3 separate regions of the Homo sapiens genome follow, and regions 1 and 2 are each linked to region 3. Evidence: promoter capture Hi-C in 16 types of primary human blood cells and fetal thymus (Javierre and others, 2016). All regions are on one chromosome and are shown on one strand. Each heading gives the region's core, a stretch centred on a gene start or on the middle of the fragment in contact. The rest is flanking DNA. Distances are from core to core; before and after follow the strand shown.

The links. The method cuts DNA at HindIII sites, captures the fragments that hold promoters and counts their contacts. A CHiCAGO score of 5 or more calls a contact.
Region 1: a contact is called between a fragment that was not itself captured here and the fragment with the promoter of ABHD4 in region 3, in 2 of 17 cell types (naive B cells and total B cells). The highest score is 5.9, in naive B cells.
Region 2: a contact is called between a fragment that was not itself captured here and the fragment with the promoter of ABHD4 in region 3, in 3 of 17 cell types (total B cells, naive B cells and endothelial precursors). The highest score is 6.5, in total B cells.

What each region holds. Positions count from the first base shown.
Region 1 is chr14:22,797,965-22,800,907 of GRCh38, forward strand. The region is part of intron 2 of SLC7A7 (solute carrier family 7 member 7); the gene reads right to left. Among named protein-coding and RNA genes, the nearest start is that of SLC7A7, 16 kb to the right of the region's middle. The HindIII fragment of the contact is 3,739 bases long and covers 1-2,943 here.
Region 2 is chr14:22,386,471-22,389,217 of GRCh38, forward strand. All of the region lies in intron 2 of TRD-AS1 (TRD antisense RNA 1), which reads right to left. It also overlaps TRA. Among named protein-coding and RNA genes, the nearest start is that of TRD-AS1, 95 kb to the right of the region's middle. RefSeq lists enhancers at 1,202-1,431, 1,540-2,040. The HindIII fragment of the contact is 4,572 bases long and covers 1-2,747 here.
Region 3 is chr14:22,596,598-22,599,680 of GRCh38, forward strand. ABHD4 (abhydrolase domain containing 4, N-acyl phospholipase B) reads left to right here and starts at 1,703. Exons shown (of 7, transcript NM_022060.3): 1 at 1,703-1,732. The coding sequence starts at 1,710. RefSeq lists a silencer at 1,388-1,587 and an enhancer at 1,698-1,937. The HindIII fragment of the contact is 5,320 bases long and covers 1-2,053 here.

The sequences.
Region 1 (2,943 bases), core at 87-2,586, 200 kb after region 3:
TCACATTTCTATGAGGTAGGGACCCCATTTTATAGAAGAGAGAACTGAGGGCTGGGCACGGTGGCTCATGCCTGTAATCCCAGCAATTTGAGAGGCCGAGGAAGGTAGATCACCTGAGGTCAGGAGTTTCAGACTAGCCTGGCCAACATGGTGAAACCCCATCTCTACTAAAAATACAAAAAATTAGCCGGGCATAGTGGTGGGCACCTGTAATCCCAGCTACTCGGGAGGCTGAGGCAGGAGAATCGCTTGAACCCAGGAGGCGGAGGTTGCAGTAAACTGAGATTACGCCACTGCACTCCAGACTGGGCAACAAGAGTGAAACTCTGTCAAAAAAAAAGAAGAAGAAGAAGGAGAAGGAGGAAAAGGAGAAGGAGAAGGAGAACAAGAGGAAACTGAGGCTAATAAATTTGACCTAGCATTGATTGAATCCTGCCTGATTCCACGCTGTTCACCACCATGCACCAGTGCCTTCCAAAGGGATAAGGGTATCCCCTACACTGTTCAAGAAAAAGAAGTCTGACTCAGGGCACCCAATCATTACAGCCATGGAGAAGGCATCATTGTAGGGTAGAGATATTTCATCCAACTTTTCCAGAAACATACCTCAACCAACCTAAGGCAGGCTTAACTCTTTTTCATAAAATCGTCCCTCAACCTTGGTCCTTTCCTCTAACAATCACCCTCCATGCTTTCAGAATCATTCATCTGAAGAGCATGTCTACATTCCTTCCCGTTCCTGGGTCTCTACAATGCAGTCTGAGATGTTGCAACTCCTTCCTCTTTCACCCTGCAAAAGTTTTCCTTTGACCCTCTGAGTTGCCAATTCCAAATGACATTTTATTCCTTATTTTAAACTTAATAGCTCCTCCAGAAAGGCTATTTTTGAGTGTAAACCTGCCACCTCTGGTATGCTGCCCTTGCTCTGTGCTCTCACCTCCCCAATTAACTACACTGCATTAGAACAGTGTACATATGTCTCTCCCACCCACGAGAGCTGTGTGAGGGCAGAGAGTGGATAACAGTTATCCTTGTACCCATGGGCATAGTCCTGAACTAGACACACAGTAACACTTAATACATTTTGCTGGGTGAATAAATGATATTTCTGAAACCTGATTTCACCCTCACTGCCCTGAAATTTCATTGCCTTAGGAGAAAGCCCACATGAAAAGCCACCAGTGACCTTCATATCAATAAATCCAATCAACTATACTCAATCTTTACCTAGCTTGACCTCTTAGCAGATTGGACACAGGTAGTCATTCATTCCTTCTCAATTCACTCCCTTCCACTCACCATCTTCCAGGTTTCCACCTATCTCTCTAGATGCTCCTTCTCCATCTTTTCACAAAATACCTATCCCTCAAATGTGGGTATTCCTCAGAATGCTTCTAAGCCCCTTTGTCCTCCCTTTCTACATCTTGTCCCAAGGTCATCTCATCTGTTCCTGTGGTTTCTTTTTCTTTTTATTTTTTTCTTTCTTTTTTTTTTTTTTTTTTTTTTTTGAGACAGAATCTTGCTCTGTCACCCAAGATGGAGTGCAGTGGAGCTGTCTCGGCTCACTGCAACCTCTTCCTCCAGGGTTCAAGCGATTCTCCTGCCTCAGCCTCCAGAGTAGCTGGGACTACAGGTGCACACCACCATGCCCGGCTAGTTTTTGTATTTTTAGTAGAGACAGGGTTTCGCCATGTTGGCCAGGCTGGTCTCGAACTCCTGGCCTCAAGTGATCAGCCCACCTCAGCCTCCCAAAGTGTTGGGATTACAGGTGTGAGCCACCGCCCTGGCCTGTTCCTATGGTTTCAATAACCATATATACAATGATGACTCCCAAAAGTATATCATCAGCCCAACTGTCATGATTCTAGATATATATGAATATTCAACCACCTACTGGACATTACCAGGCACATCAAACTCAACATGTCCAAAACTGATTCCATCAATTTCTCCCAAACCTACTGCACCTTCGGTGTTCCCCATACAAGTAACTGGCGTCACCATCCACCCATTTATGCAAGCCAAAGACCTGGGCATGTTATTGTCATCAACAACTTCCACTCATATCTACTCATAGTCCAAGTCTTAAGTCTCCCTGTCCCCAAAACATGACTCTAGTCCAAGCCACCATCATTTCTCACTAGGATCATAGCAGCAGCTTCCCACCTGTCTCCCAGCTTTCAATCCTACATAGAAAAACTAATCTTTCTTAAACTCACAAATTCTAAAATCTAAATCACAAATGCCACTCTTCTGCTTTTAAAGGCCTTAAGAGTTTTCTCATTGCCTTAGAAGACAGCCCACCAAACTCCTTAATATAGTTGGTGCAATAGATTGGAGTTTTCCAATATGCCTCAACGTCTCCCATCCCATATTCCTTTCTTACAATGTGACTTTGACACTCTACCCATCAAGAGGCAGGGTCTGTACCCCTCTTCTCGAAACTGGATGGTCTTCTGTGAATGCCTCTACCTATAGAGTATGACAGAATTGACACCATGCAACTTCAGAGACTAGGTCATAAAAGGCAATGCAACTTCCACTTTGGGTGCTACAACACTCATTCTGGACGCTTTCAGCTGCCTGCATAAGCAGTCTGACTGCCCACGAGTCACCACGCTGTGAGAAAGCTCAACACAGTCCATACGGAAAGACCACATGGAAAGACTGACACAATTTGATAAAGAAGGCCGGGTGCGGTGGCTCACACCCGTAATCCTAACACTTTGTTTGGGAGGCCGAGGCGGGTAGATCACCTGAGGTCAGGAGTTCAAGACTAACCTGGCCAACACGGTGAAACCCCGTCTCTACTAAAAATATAAAAATTAGCCGGGCGTGGTGGGGCACGCCTGTAATCCCAGCTACTCAGGAGGCTGAGGAAGGAGAATTGCTTGAATCTGAGAGGTGGAGGTTGCAGTGAGCCGAGATCGCGCCACTGCACTC
Region 2 (2,747 bases), core at 133-2,632, 210 kb before region 3:
TCTTCAGCTGTTGTAACTGCTAGTGACCCTTCTCTGAATCCCTACTTCGTATGTTAGACATTTTTTATATGGAGAATTAATACAGCCTTGACTGCTATGCTTCTTTTTTACTTCCATCTCTAATAATAAGATCCTCAAGGGTCGAGACTGTCATACTCTTGTTTTTTGTGTTTACTTCACTGCATATCCTAGAGCTGAGTACATATGGAAGAATGAATCAATTAATGAAATTTATGAACACATGCTGAGGTTTAAAGAGAATATCAACTGCTTGGTTTGATGACAAAAAGCAACATCACTCTGTGTCTAGCACGTAGCCCAGAGGTGCGGGCCCCATCCTCTCGTGTGAGGAGCCCACGGTGATGCATAGGCACCTGCACCCCGTGCCTAAACCCTGCAGCTGGCACGGGCCCTGTCTGCTCTTCATTCACCGTTCTCACGAGTTGCAATAAGTTCAGCCCTCCATGTCACACTGTGTTTTCCATCCTGGGGAGTGTTTCACAGCTATCCCAAGCCCCACGCTGACGAATCACGGCCGAAAACACACTCTGATGCCAGCACAGACCACGGAGCAAATGTCAGACAAGATCAGCCTCGGAAAAGTGAGTCCTGAATTGCGATGGAAGTGGGCTTCCTCTCACAAGGACTTTGTGTGGAGATGCGCAGGTGGGCTGTTGGAAAAGACCCATGGAATTCCCTTCCTCTGGGTGCCTTTTCTGTCCCAACCTCTGGGGATTCCTCAAGAATCGGGGGGATTTCAGCACGGAGTGTGGGACTCTGTCTGCCCCAAGATCAGAGGATTCACCTTGCCTTTTGGAAAGAACTGCCCAGTGTATCAGGTTTTTATGAGTCAGTTTTAGAGTTGGGAATGCGGACAGATTTGTAAGAAAGTCCACAGAGCATATCTCTCCACAGCGGAGAAGGCTCTCGAGCCCCAGAAGGCAATATCACGGTGGCCTAGGTGGATGTCACGGGGTGAGAATCAACCCTCAGTTGCCACGAGGAATCTGAGGAGATCCAGGATTACGGTTTTTATGTAACTGTCTTACCTCTGTTTCACAAGGGCCAAAACTTCAGCCCCGTTATAAAATCAACAGATGCAGAAAAGAGACAAGTGGCCACTAGATGGCAGCAGATGGTAAGAAACGTGAGTTGCAGGCGGGCTGGGCAAGAGTTAGGCTGGAAGCCCCTCCATTTTGCTTTACATCTTTAATGAGATATGTGAAGAAAATTAGTCCCTTACATGCCAGACGCAGATGCCACAGCATATGGAGAGATGCCGCACAGCAATATTTCTCTGGTTATTAAACAGGAGGCACCTAACCAGTCATTCACTGCATCATCATGCAGAGTTATCCTTTAGGTCTCCGGATACTGTTGTTGACAAGGTAATAACAGAAGAAAGCAGTTGAGAAGACTGATGTCGGGACGTGGGCCTCTGGGCTCGTGGGACTTCACCATGCCAGGGGATGGGGCACATTGCCAGAAAATGAGGAGCAGCCCACTGGGGCCACTTTTCCGTGGCCAGGGGGACACTGTGGCTTCTGCTGCCGGGCTTAGTCCCAGCAGGCGTCTGCTGCTCTCTGGTCCCCCTGGCAGCCCTCGGGGGCTCATTTATTCAGAAGCCCCATTACCGCGAGACAATTCTGCGGTCTGACCTTTCACCACAAATCCCAAATGGGAAAGGGAGCTCTGGGAATTTTAAAGAGCAAACCACACTTGCTTCTCCAGCAAAATTGAAAAGATACAGCATAACTAGAGTGCATTCAGGTGCACATAGATAGGGAAACACGGTTTCCATGCTGCCCCAAACAAAAGGAGGGAGTCCAGTCCTGCCGACTGCAGGAAACAGCCTCACTCGGAAGACACACTTTTTCTTGGGAGAGTGTTCCCAGGTCCAGAGCAGGCAGGGATTGCGCCCACTTCCCCACTTCTCACACTTTTCTCCAACCCCACCACTCAGTCTGACTATTCCTTTATTTAATTCTTCCACACTCCCAAACCCAGGGGCTTCATAAGGCCTTCAGGGTAGCTGAGGAACAGAGAACAGATTATTCAGTCCAGGCAACTAGTCCTTGTCTCAGGCCCAACAAGAAACTGTTATCTTATTAACCTGAAAGCCCAGAACTCTCAGGACTTCTCAGAGTCACTCATGAAGCCCCTTAACAGTCCTGAAATGAAGATAAATAATACAGCCATTTTTCGTACAGAGAAACTGAGGTATAAAACTGAGATCAGCTGCAGCTCTCCTGGTCCCCATTGCTTTCCCACAGATTCAACCCTCTGAAGCATCCTCCAGTGAAAATGTAGTAGCAAGATTCACCCTACCAGGATTTCTCTCCCCCTCTTAGAAAATTACTTCCTGCGCTAGAAATCCTCACTTGTCTGTGTGACTTTAGACAACTTGCTTAACCTCTCTGTGCCTCACTTATCATCTGTAATTTGAGGGACTAGAACCAGATGATGACTAAGGCCCATTCCAGCTCACAGTCTTGTGGCTAATTTCCCAGTCCTCTGCCAGCCCTCAAAGAGAGTTGTATGGGACACTTTTTCCAGCAACAGCCAAACTCAACAGGAGCAAGCAGAATTTCCTTCTCCAATTGAGAAGCAATGGGGTGGTGGTTGGAGTCTTGTTGATGTCCTTTGTCCTCGGAGTGAGGCAAACAGTGAGGCTTCAGATGTTATTGGCACTAACAGCAGGGCCTGGAGGTGGCCACACTCTTGTGGAAGGACCATGCAGAGCTGTC
Region 3 (3,083 bases), core at 453-2,952:
AACTAAAAAAAAAATTAGCTGGGCACATGTAGTCCTAGCTACTTAGAAGACTGAGGCAAGAGGACCCCTTGAGCCCAGGAGTTCAAGGCTGCAGTGAGCCATGATCATGACACTGCATTCCAGCTTAGGTGACAGTGAGAATCAGTCTCAAAAAAAAAAAGGTTGCATGAAAGAGACAAGTCCTCTGCTAGTTGAACTACTTTGTACCACATCTGGCAAATTCCTAAGCCCCTAAACTCTATAAATGCTGGTTCTCCTAAACGTTAAGTCTTTATAATGATCAGCTTAACACTGTGTTGCTACAAAGAAGAAATCTCAGAATCATCTGGGTCCTGCAGGAAGGCTAAAGAAAAATGCTTTGATAAACCCCTGTGCACCAGCATTCTCTCACCCATCCTCCACCACTCCCCAGTCTGGTTTTTTTTGTTTGTTTGCTTGTTTGTTTTTGGTTTTTGAGATGGAGTCTCACTCTGTCTCTCAGGCTGGAGTGCAGTGTCACAATTTTGGCTCACTGCAACCTCCGCCTCCTGGGTTCAAGCAATTCTCCCTGCCGCAGCCTCCCCAGTAGCTAGGATTACAGGTGCCTGCTACCACACCTGGCTAATTTTTTGTATTTTTAGTAAGAGATGGGGTTTCACCATGTTGGCCAGACTGGTCTCGAACTACTGACTGCAAGTGATCCACCCACTTTGGCCTCCCAAGGTGCAGGGATTACAGGCGTGAGCCACCGCGCCCCACCCCTAGTCTGGTTTTAACTAAGGGGATGATCTGAAATCTGACAGTTCCAGGGAGGTCAGGCCCTGTTTACCGGTACAAGCAAATTCAGCAGCCAGCCTCAAGATTTAGCTCCTCTGCTGAGCAAACTGAAGTGCACTCAGGACCTCTGGGCCAAGCCAGCCTTATCTCCCTGTCCCCGCATTTACATACCGAAAGGAGACCTAGCCTTATTGGTGAGTCCTTCAACTGTTATCCTCCAAACTGAGGGTGACCTGGAGTTGAGCTATATTTTCCCTGGAAAATAGGTTGGGGTCAGAGTCAACATCAGAGCAGAGATATGCCCATTTTGGCAGATGTCATATAGGTTTAGGTTTGCCAGAGAAAATACAGGATGCCTACTTATGTCCCAAATACTGCATGGCCCATACTTATTCTAAAAAAGTATTTGCTTTATTTAAATCTGGAATTTACATTTAACTAGGTGTCCTGTATTTTAGTTTCGAAATCTGGCATCCAGGCCCTTTGTAGGAGCATTCAACCAATGGCGTTGTCTCCACAAACATTTAAGCCTCTTACTAGAAGGAACATTAACAAGGGTCGATTTCAGGAGGACACAGTTACAATGGGAAGCCCAAAGAGTGGGTGCGAGCGTGCAGGCGTAGTTCTACCACTTTTTAGTTATGAGAGAAGGGAGGGCTGTCGGAGCTCCTGCAAGGACTCCCCCAAATGTGTGACCAGGATTACTGTCCCATTCTGAGACCGTCAGAGACATCTCTGCCGGGACACATGCCAGTGATTGAAAACACAGCAAGGGCCCCACTAGCTGAAACCAAGTTGCAGAGTTTTGAGGGTCCCACCGCCGACCGCCGGCCCGCCGCGAGCCCTGCCCCCTGCGCGGCCACGCCCCCTTGCTCCCCGCGGCCTCCCGGGTCAGCTGGTGCTGGCGTCAGGCGCTGGGCGGGCTCGCCAGGACCTGGCAAGGCTTGTTTACTATGGCCGATGATCTGGAGCAGCAGTGAGTTAATCCTGTCCCTTTCTCTCTTTCTCTCTCTCTCTCTGGGCCATGATCCTGGGACTGTCTGTGGCTGAGGAACAGTTGTAGACACCTTCCCGCTCTTCCTTTTCCAGGTCGGCCTCCGGGGAGGGCGGGGGGTGGGTGCGTTGCTTGCTTTGCATTTGCCCAGAAGAGGCAGCGGCTGAGCCTGGGGAGCCATGGGAGACGCGCTCGCCCGCAGCCCGGGGATCCTGGCTTTCTACCTTAGTCCTCGCGAGTGCCCCTCATTCTCCTCTGGCCTCTGGAGAGATTCCATGTTGATGTGTGAGATCCCCGAAAGCAAGCTTGTGGGACGCGGGTGCGGAGGTAGCAGCCAGGCGTGCTCGTCTCGACTTGCCCCCCAGAACGGCAGTCGTGGGGATGGAGAGAGCCTCCTCCCTCCGCCCGGCAAAGAGAAGATGTGGAGAGACTGGAGAGGTCTCCATCGCGCTGAAATTGGTGTGGAACAACGGGCTTGCAAGTTTCTTTAGCTGTCGCCCACCGAGACACGTAGCCGCATGTGATCCTAGTTGATAATGCTTTTAATAATCGTAACAACATCTTTAATGCAATGGTTTCAGATTTAGAGCTATTGGGATTTGCTACCACTCTTTCAAGGGCATCAGGTTTGGGATACCACCTGTAGGTGGTGTGACTAGCAGTTCGCAATCTGATAGGAGTAAGAAAAAGTTGCTACGAGAAGAATGACTCAGCTCCCAGCCGAGCCTTGGTTTCACCAGAACTGGGCCTTTCCTGGACCCAGTAATCCTGTTTTTCAGACCTGTAGAACTGGAAGTCCGGGGAACTAATTAACTTTATGACCATAATTAATAGCTTGCTGGGCTTGAAAGAAATGTCCAGGGGAATGTTTTACTTTCTAAGATGACTTTTCCAAGAGGAAATTTGCAATGCTTTAAAGGACTTAGGGAGGCAGAATATTAGAGCTGGAGGACATGCAGGTAGTTCAGCTCCTTTTTAAAAATGAAGAAGCTGGTGTCCATAGAAATTAGGAGACTTGCCCAAGATCACAGAGGTCTAGAACAGGATTCTCTCCCAGCACAGAACCCCTTGTGCTTCACCCCCATCAAGTTGACAGAGACCGTCCTAGCCAGGTTAAGTTCATGGCTGAATGTCTTTTCTGCTCCTTGCCTCAATTTCCCACTCCAGCCCTTACCTCCCGCATAGTTTTGAGCACATACAGTGTGCCAGGCACCATTTCCAGTGTTTACTTGTAACATTTTTGGTGAAGAAGGAAAGCAAAGTAATTCTCCCACCAAGGACTCTCTGCTGAGCAGTCTATGATGCTGTTCCTTGGGTAGCGTTTCTCCTGAAC